2 separate regions of the Homo sapiens genome follow, and region 1 is linked to region 2. The links are contacts of gene promoters, found by promoter capture Hi-C in human tissues and cell types (Jung and others, 2019). All regions are on one chromosome and are shown on one strand. Each heading gives the region's core, a stretch centred on a gene start or on the middle of the fragment in contact. The rest is flanking DNA. Distances are from core to core; before and after follow the strand shown.

The links. The method cuts DNA at HindIII sites, captures the fragments that hold promoters and counts their contacts. A contact is called where the count stands out against the background at its distance.
Region 1: a fragment that was not itself captured here is called in contact with the fragment with the promoter of RAB6B in region 2 in 2 of the 25 tissues and cell types used here (IMR-90 fibroblasts and aorta).

What each region holds. Positions count from the first base shown.
Region 1 is chr3:134,108,406-134,113,296 of GRCh38, reverse strand. No RefSeq gene overlaps it. Among named protein-coding and RNA genes, the nearest start is that of LINC02000, 53 kb to the right of the region's middle. The HindIII fragment of the contact is 6,872 bases long and covers 1-4,891 here.
Region 2 is chr3:133,894,632-133,899,893 of GRCh38, reverse strand. RAB6B (RAB6B, member RAS oncogene family) reads left to right here and starts at 4,012. Exons shown (of 8, transcript NM_016577.4): 1 at 4,012-4,497. The coding sequence starts at 4,428. RefSeq lists a silencer at 3,993-4,042. The HindIII fragment of the contact is 14,643 bases long and covers 1-5,262 here.

The sequences.
Region 1 (4,891 bases), core at 1,731-4,230, 210 kb before region 2:
AGGTAACTAAAACCACAGAAAGCAAAACCTTAAATAAGGGGGGAATACTATATGGTATAAGAGCCCAACTTTATTCCTTTGCATGCAGATATCCAATTTTCCCAGAATTATTCATTGAAGAGACTTCTTTTTCCATTGAGTGTGGCCTTAGCACACTTGTTGAAGATCATTTAACTTTATGTGCACGGGTTTATTTCTGGGATCTCTATTCTGTTTATTAGTCTATTTTGTCTTTATGGCAGTACCATTAGTCTATTTGTCTTTATGACAGACTATTCTATTCATTGGTCTATTTGTCTTTATATCAGTATGGCAGTACACTTTTTGTTATTATTTTGCTTTGTCATAGTTTGAAATCAGGAAGTGTGAGTGCTCCAACTTTTTTTTTTTCCTTTTTCAAAATTCTTTTGGCTATTCAGGGTTCCTTGAGATTCTGTATGAATTTTAGGATAATGTTTTATATATCTGTAAAAACAAAACTATTGGGACTTTGATAAGATTTGTTTTGAGTCTGTAGATCGCTTTGGGTAGTGTGGACATTTTTTAAAAATTAAGTTTTCCTACCCAAAAACGTAAGATGTTTTTCATTTATTTGTGTTTTCTTTAATTTCTTTCAGCAATGTTTTGTAATTTTTAGTGTATAAGTCTTTCACCTCCTTGCTTAGGCTTATTTCTAAGTATTTTATTCTTTTTGATGCCATTGTAAATGGAATGGTTTGCTTAATTTCCTTTTGGATTGTTCATTATTAGTGTATAGAAACACAACTGATTTTTGTATGTTGATTTTGTATCCTGGAACTTTGCTGAATTAGCTTACTAGTTCTAATAGATTTTTTTAGTGGAATCTTTCAGGTTTTTTGCATATAATATCATATCATCTGCAAACAGACAGTTTAACTTCTTCCTTTCCAATTTGGATGCCATTTTTCTTTTTCTTATCTAATTGTTCTGGAGATGACTTCTCATACTATGTCAAATAGAAGTCGTGAGAGTGGGCACCTTTGTCTTTTTCCTGATGTTAGAGGAAAAACTTCTAGTCTTTTGCCATTGGGTATGATGTTTACTGTGAGTTTTTCATAAATGCCCTTTATTATGTTGAGGTATTTTCCTTTTATTCCTAGTTTGGTGAATTATTTGAATCATGAAAGGATATTAAATATTTTCAAATGCTTTTTCTGCAACTATTGAGATGATCATATGATTTTATCCTTCATTCTGCTAATATGGTGCATCACATTTATTGATTGGTATGTGTTAAACCATCCTTCCATCTCAGTGATAAATCCCACTTAATCATGGCATATGATCATTTTAATGTGCTGTTGTGTTCAGTTTGATAGTATTTGCCAAGGATTTTTGCAACAATATTCATCGGGGATAGTGATCCGTAGTTTTCTCATAGTGTCTTTGTCTGACTTTGGTATCAGGTTACTGCTGGCTTTATAGAATGAGCTTGTAAGAGTTCCTCCCTCTTCAATTCATTGAAAGAGTTTCCAGAGGATTGATGCCAATTCTTTAAATGTTTGCTAGAATTCTTCACTGAAGCCATCTGGTATTGGGAAGTTTTGGGAGTTTTTTGATTTACTCATTTAATCTCTTTATTCTTTATTGGTCTGATTAAATTTTGTTTCTTTATGATTCTGTCTTGGTGGTTTGTGTGTTTCTAGGAATTTATCCATTTCTTCTAGGTTATCCAATTTCTTAGTGTATAATTGTTCATAATATTCCCAATAATTTTTTTTTTATTTCTGTGGCAATGGTTGTAATGTCTCCCTTTAACTTCTGATTTTAGTGATTTGAGTCTTCTCTCTTTTTCTTAATCTAGTTAAGTTTTGTCAATTTTGTTGATCTTTCAAAAAACCAACTCATTTTCTTCCTTTGCTGGCTTTGGGTTTAGTGTGTTCTTCATTTTAGTTTCTTAAGGTATATAATTAGGCTTTCTGAATTGAGATCTTTCTTCTTTTTAATATACATGTTTACAGCTATGAAATTCCCTCATAGCACTTTCACTGCATTCCATAAGTGTTGGTATGTTGTGTTCTTATTTTTAATAGTTTCTAATTTCTCTTTTGACCTTGTCTTTGACACATTGGTTGTTTAAGAGTGTGTGAATTTTCACATTTGTGGACTTACTGTTTTCCTTGTTCTATTGACTTCTAGTTTCATTCCGTTGTGTTTAAAAAGATATCTTGTGTGATTTCAACCTTCTTGAATTTGTTAAGATTTGTTTTGTGGCCTATTACGTGATCTATGTTGGAGAATGTTCTATGTACACTTGAGAATAATGTATATTCTGTTTTTGTTGGGTAAATGTTCTGTATATGACAGTCATTATAAATTCTTTGTCAGGCAACTCATAGATGTGCTTTCCTTTAGGCTTTTTGGGGGAGGTTTATTTTGTTACTTTGATTGGGCCATGTTTCCCTGTTTCTTTGTGTGTCTTGTAATTTTTTGCTGAGATTTGGGCATTTAAAAAAAACAAACACCTCTTCCAGGCTTTGTATCAGCATTAGGCAGAGGAAGGTCTTCATCATTCAGCCCAGCTGGACCTCTCAAATAATTTCTGATCTCTTGCTATTCCTGGTATCTACCTGTAGAGCTATAGCTCTAATGTGATGCTTGCCTCTGTTTACAGTGGTTTCCAAAATCTTGCTCCAGTTTGTCAGCACTCTGAGTCAGGTGAGACAGAAACCAGTCCCTTGGGCAGGCCCAGAAAAGCTATAATATTGGACATATGTTCTGATCTATTTTTTTTTTTTTTTCAGATGGAGTCTCGCTCTGTCACCCAGGCTGGAGTGCAGTGGCTTGATCTCGGCTCACTGCAGCCTCCGCCTCTTCTGTTCAAGCGATTCTCCTGCCTCAGCCTCCCAAGTAGCTGAGACTACAGGAGTATGCCACCACACCTGGCTAATTTTTTTGTATTTTTAGTAGAGATGGGGTTTCACCATGTTGGTCAGGCTGGTCTCAAACTCCTGACCTCAAATGATCTGCCCGCCTCAGCCTCCCAAAGTGCTGGGATTACAGGCTTGAGCCACCATACCCAGCCCTGATCTTTTGTTTTTATTCTAAGGGAGGAGCTCTTGTATGGTGACAGTTGAGGGGGATTCCTCCTGCTTGCTCTGTGCTATGCAGGGGGAAGGGCATGAATAGCCCACCAAACACTGCAAATTTCCTACAGCTTTCACTGGAATCCCTTTTTGGTTTTACAATGGCGTGGGTGCTGTAGCTTTTCAGTTGGTCTCTGGAGTTCTCACAGAGGTATTCTGTTTCATATATTGTTGATAACTCAGTATATCTGTGTGGGAAAGAGGGTCTGTAGCTTCCTAGCCTATCATCTTGCTGATGTCACTTTCCTCATTTCTAAATAGTTTAAGGTATGACTTTGATTGAATGTTCTTATAAACCTCAAATAATTTAGGAAATTGAATTCTTGGCTGGGCGCGGTGTCTCATGCCTGTCATCCCAGCACTTTGGGAGGCGGAGGCAGGCAGATCACGAGGTCAGGAAATCGAGACTATCCTGGCTAACATGGTGAAACCCTGTCTCTACTAAAAATACAAAACATTATCCAGGTGTGGTGCCACGTGCCTGTAGTCCCAGCTACTTGGGAGGCTGAGGCAGGAGAATCCCTTGAACCTGGGAGGCAGAGGTTGCAGTGAGCCGAGATTGTGCCACTGCACTCCAGCCTGGGTGACAGAACGAGACAGTCTTAAAAAATAAAAATAAAAAAGAAAAGAAAAGAAAATTGAATTATTTTCAAGTAGGCGTGTGTGTGTGTTTGTCTGTGTGATTACTATTTTCTAATTATACTGAATTATGGTTAGCAAATATGGCATATGTGTTTCTTATTCTGAGAACTTTTGGAGATTTCCTTTGTGGCCTATTACCTGGTAAGCTTTTGTGGAAGTTCTATGTGTATTCTGTTTTTTGAGTACAAAGTTCTAACTTTATCTTTTGTACTAAGCTTCTTAATTTTGCTTTTTAAATTCTCTATATTATTATTTATAATTTTCAACCACATGATTGACCAGTTTCTAAGAGAAACTGAGGAATATTTTTGGGACTCAGATTTTTGGGACATATCTATTATCACTATGATAATAGATATGTAAATTTGGCCTTTTATACCTGCCAGTTTTTATTTCACGTATTGCAAAACATGTTTGGTGCATAAAGGTTTATGACTGCCATGTTTTCTTATTAATAAGGGGTATAATCCTTTTATTGTACTTCTTATCAAGTACCTCTTATTATACCTCTTATCAAATATCCTCCTCTGCCCCAGTTTGTGATTTTTACTGTTTTGACTGATACTAATAATGCTATACTTGCCTTCCTCTTAGCGTTTGCATGTTATATCTTTACCTATCCTTGATTGTTTTAGCAGGCTATGTTTTCAAAACTATGTAATTTTAATTTTAAAAATGTAACCCAATAGCCTTTTTAAAATAGGTGAATTTATCCCAGTTACATTTATCATGATTATTAATATCTCATTACAGTTGTTGATGCCTACCAGCCAAAGACCAACAGAAATAGGCTTGTCGTCAAACAAAGTTTGGTTTATTGGTACTTATTGCAACAAGGGCAACACCCCAAAGTTCCCCATGGTATGTGGTCTCCCTTGTTGCAACAAAGACCAATAATTTTGTTCAACGAAACCTGTGCTCCTGGTGGTCTTTGACTTGTGGATATCAACATAGTAAAGCGCTCTCTTTCTCTCTCTCTCTCCATCTGTGTGTGTGTGTGTGTGTGTGTGTGTGTGTGTGTGTGTGTGTGTGTTGTCTTTCCCAAATACATGCTATCTCTTCAAATGTTTCTTGCTACCTAGCTATCTTGGGAATCTATTTCCATTTCTTATCTCCACCCCTTAATCTCTGTTTCTGTCTTT
Region 2 (5,262 bases), core at 2,763-5,262:
CAACAGATGGATCTCAGGAACATAATGTTAAGAAAAATGCAAGTCATAGGACAGAATATACAGTTTGAGACATTATATAAAATTCAAAAGATGCAAAACAAAAAAGTATTGTTGGAGGACACATCCAAATGTGATAAAAACTCAAAGAAAAGCCACAGTTCTGGATTTTCAAGCTGGGGAGAGAGGGAGGGGCAGAAACACCTGAGGGCCTCAAAAGTACTGTAATATTTGAGTGCTCCAGCCAGGTGAAGTGAAAAAAACAATCCCAAAGGGTGATATACTGTGTAATGCCACTTATATAAGATTCTTGAAATAACACATTTATTGAAATGAAGAACAGATTAGTGGTTGCCAGAGGTTAGGAAGGGGTTGAGGGTGGGAGGAAAGTGGGTGTGGCTATAAAAGGGGAACATGAGGGCTCTTTGTGTGTCAAGGTACAGAACAGAAATGTACCTTGACTGTCTTAATTCCAGTATCCACATTATGATACTGTAGTATAAAGTTCTGCAAGATCTTACTCTTGGTGAAAACTAGATAAAGGATATACAGATCTGTCTTTTTTTTTTTTCCTGTTTGTGAATCTACAATGATCTCAAAAATTTAATTTAAATATATATATATATATATATAACACAGCAAAGGGCTCAGGAAAACCAAGATCTTGAAGAAAATGAAAAATATAGATGATGCTGTAGTGCTATATGATCTAACGAATATCTTTGAAAAATAGTTTGGCACAAAATTAAACGTACACTTGTTTTTATACCACAATTTACCTACTGACACATATCTTAGAAAAACTTCACAGAGGCATCAAGAGACATGTAAAGAATGTTGATGGCAGCATTGTTTGTTAATAGCAGAAACAAAACTGAGTGCATTTTCCAATGTTAATTTCCTGGTTTTACTAAGCAATGTGGTTATGTAAGATGTTATCACTGGGGTAGCTTGGTGCAGGATACATAGTAACTCCCTGCACTGTTTTTTATAACCTCTATGTGAGTATAAAATTATTTAAAATAATTTTAAAAAAGGCCAGGCGTGGTGGCTCACACCTGTAATCCCAGCACTTTGGGAGGCTGATGCAGGCGGATCACGAGGTTAAGAGATTGAGACCATTCTGGTCAACATGGTGAAACCTCGGCTCTACTAAAAATAAAAAAATTAGCTAGACCTGGTGGTGCGTGGCTGTAGTACCAGCTACTCGGGAGGCTGAGGCAGGTGAATTGCTTGAACCTGGGAGGCGGAGGTTACAGTGAGCCGAGATGGCGCCGCTACACTCCAGCCTGGTGACAGACCAAGACTCCATCTCAAAAATAATAACAACAATAATAAAATAAAATAAAATAAAAATTTTAAATGACACATTTTACAGAAAATCATTTAAAAATTGGGGCATAACTAGAATACTAACCAGCAGTGAAAATGAAAGAACTGCTGCTACATGAATTAACAAATGGATCTCAGAAACATGATGTTAAGAAACATGCAAGTCAGGACAGAAAACACAGTTTGATACCTTATATAAGATTCAAAAGATGCAAAACAAAACAAAGTATTGTGAAGGACACATCCAATGTGATAAAACTCAAAGAAAAGCTAAGATTCTGGATTTCCAAGTTGGGGAGGGAGGAAGGAGAAGAAAGCACCTGGGGGCCTGAAAAGTACTATAATATTTGAGCCCTCCAGCTGTGTAGAGGGTAAATGGGCACTCAGAGTGATAGGTTTTCTTTGTAACTTACATATACACAGCACATACTAAATAGGAAGATTTAAAGAATTTTTTTAAATGGAATGCACAGATTCTATGATATGGAAGAAACTCTTTCTAGTGAGGTTGCCAGGCTGAGGTTCAGTGGCCCCATTTTCCACCTGGAGAAAGTCTGTCTGCTTTAGGGCAGGTTAAGGACAAGACTCAAAATCAGGGGAGATAAGCAATGATAGTTGGAGGAGAGAGACTTGGAGCAGAGCAAACTTGGAGTCTCTAAGGCTCTCATTTCCACAGCATGATGACTGCATTCTGAGAGCAATGCCAGTATCTGCTCCAGCGACGTGAGCCCGGTAGTCGGAGCCGGGTTTTTGTCATTTGAACTGGAAGAATTATGACAGAGTCCCCCAAAGTAAGCTGGACCATAGTCAGCCCAGCTGGACCTGGTAAGCATATGGGATGACTTGGAGGCTTAGAGGTGCCCAGAGGGGCCCTGCCCCAGCCCTCCCTCCCCTACTGCCATACCACCTTACATGTGCGGGACCAGATGATCAGAGGAGGTACAGGACCTGCCTAGGCTTACCCAAAAGATGGTGCCTTTTCTGGCACACCTCAGCTGTTTTGTCTTGCCACCGATGATCTCATCAGGTCAGGATGAGAGGGTACAGGGAGACAGCACTAGATGTTAGGAGAAGGTGCAGGTTGGAGGAGTGTTGCATGGCTGGGTACCTTGGCCAGTAGCTCACTGGCCCTTCTTTGGAGGGATCACTTATAGAGACGGGAAGGGCTGTGACTTGGGAGTCTCCTCTCCTTTCAGAGCTTTCTTCAACCCCAAGCTGGATATGGTCTCCTAAGAGAGCAGGAGCCCCAGAGAAGTGGGTGGGTGTCTGGAGGGTTACCCTGAGCCTGGTGCCAGCCACAACGGGGCAGATATTCTAGGTGATGACTTACAATCCCTGGGGTTCCAAACTAAAGGTAATTATGAGAATAGGACAGTTATTTTGATTTGAGTTCTAGATGTTCATTCAAACATTCAACAACTATTTCTTAAACTCTGAGCTATGTCCTTGGGATGCAGTGGTGGAGCTTCAACTACTGCTTTTATGGAACTTGTGGTCAGGTTTCTAACAAGAAATAGGAAAGAGATTCGAGGTGAGCACACCAGGGAGACAGATAGGCTTGCCCAAGCAAGCCCCATAAGTCAAAAAGGGGGTAACAAGTGTCCACGAGAAATCTGGAGGTGAAGGTTGTGTCTCACTCCTCTTTCTCTTTCTATAACACATGCGTGCACACACCATCGTGTTCACCGACATGCAGATTATTATCTCAAATAAATGCTCACTGAACAGCCATAAATGAACAAGACCACGCTGTGGCAGAACAGTAAGGGACAGCTTTGTAAAACCTCAATTAACCAGCATGCCTTAGGCTCGGGCTGTCTTGGGAGTGTTTCTAGCACTTGGCGTCTGCTCTTTGCTCTCACTCACTCACAACTTGGTCTGTGTGCCTCGATGGACCAGGCAAGTAGAGGCCAAGGAGAGGTCGCCCACATGTCCTCAGATAGCTCATTGTCCAGATACACCTAATTGCCAGGGTGGGGAGTGGCATTGTCAGCCTGGCGACCCCGGGATCAAGAAACGCAGGGCACTGTCCTGGAGATAGTGGCACTGGCATTCAGAGCGTCACCGTTCCTTCTCTCCCATGGGGCAGGTTAGGATTTGGCATAAAATGATCCAAATGAGCAGCTGGTTTGAGGTAGGCGCGCCTGATATTGGCAGCTCCTCTCTCGCTGGCCAGGTCTGCGGGGGCACCCACAGACTCCACAAGAGGCCGCCCAAATAAAGGGTCTAGGCCTCGAGAGGGAAGGGCGGGCTAGAAGCCACGGGGGGCAAGAGTCGAGCCCCATCTGCGCCAAGTACGCCAGGTTTCCCTAGGTCTGACCGCCCTGACGGGCCTCGCCACACCCTGGCTCTCCCCCACCTTCGTTCCTTTCCGCCCTGTCGGTCGGACGACTGCGCTGTGCATCGGTGTCTCGCGAGGTGGAGGAAGGGACTGGCATCTAGGTTTAAAAGACCAGAAACAAATGTCCCCTGACAATTTCTGTCATTTTCTGGATTCAAAAGAGGGGTAGAGTGGGGAAGACAGACGCAGCGGGGCAGCGAGACACGGTCCCCCCCGGGGGGCTCTCAGGGGTACGGCGAGGAGGTTCTCTCCTGCCCGGGTGCGGGCTCGGGTGGGCGGGCGCACGCCCCCCAGCCCCGCAGCCCCGCGGGCCCCGCATGACATCAGAGGCTGGGGAGCGCACAGAGCGCAGGCGCCGGCGGAGGAGGCAGGCGGGAGGGGGCCGACTGGCGCGGCTCTGGAGAGCGCTCCTCCGCCCCGCGCGCCGTCCCTGCGCCCCGCTCCGCCCGCGCCTCTCTCCCAGCGCCGCGCCTCGGGCGTAAAGAGCGCGCCCCTCGCACCGCAGCCAGTGCCGACCGCAGCAGCCCAGCCCCAGCCTTCCTCCGCCTCCGCCTCTCTCTCCTCCTCCTCCTCCGCCGCCGGACACGCAGCCGCAGGCCGGGACCGGGACGCAGCTGGGGAGTCAGGGACGCGCGCAGCCAGCCCTTCCCCCTCCGGCTCCCGCACCGCCGGCCGCCTCCCCTCGCCCTCCTACTCTCCCCTCCCTGCTCCTTCGCTTTTTCCTCCTCCTCCTCTCCCGGCCCCGGCTGCCAGCACCATGTCCGCAGGGGGAGATTTTGGGAATCCACTGAGAAAATTCAAGTTGGTGTTCTTGGGGGAGCAGAGCGGTAAGTACCCGGCTTAATCTCTTGGCTTGTCGCCGAGTCGACCCCCGCCGCCCAATCGCCCACCCCATTGGGACCCCCGGCCCAGGCTCGGAAAGGCCCCTCCTTGCCAGGGTAGAGGAGAGGGACAGGGATGGGGAGGTCGGGGCGGGGTCGGGCTGGGGAGGGGCCAAGGGTGAGGACGGAGGAGGCGCTGGAGCCTGGGGTGGAGGTGAGGGTGGGCTCTGGGTGGGGGGCCCGGGGTGTGGGTGCAGGTGCGGCGCTGCAGGGGGCCCGGAGGGCGGCGGCTGGCTCCGCGGCGCTGGCCAGGGCGTGAAGGAACCGGGCTCGCTGGCTAGCTCACACTGCGGCACCGGCTGCGGGCGACCGCGCAGGTGGCTGGGTGCTGGCGGGGGTGGGGAGAGCGACGGGCGCCCCCCTTGGAGAACGAAGCGAAGCTGGGGTCTGGCCGGGCCTCACTCCGCTGCACTGGAGGGGTGTTCCCTGCGGACCCTGCTGGGAACCATGCGAAAGGGCACGTCCAGGGCGTGGGACAAACAGCCACCGGGGAGAAAAGAGCGACACCTGTCTCTGCTCGAAAGAGCGAGTGCAGGCCATGGGGGAACGGGGAGCCTACCTCCCCTGGCTCACGTCCGACTGGGCACAGAAGGTTCTAGACCCGCTGCCCTTCGCCGGCGCTTGTTAGTCTCCTTGCTGCCCAGGGATCTGGGCAATTGCAGTGAGGGCTACCCCAACTCGAGGCGATTTGGGGAATGATACAGGGGCACC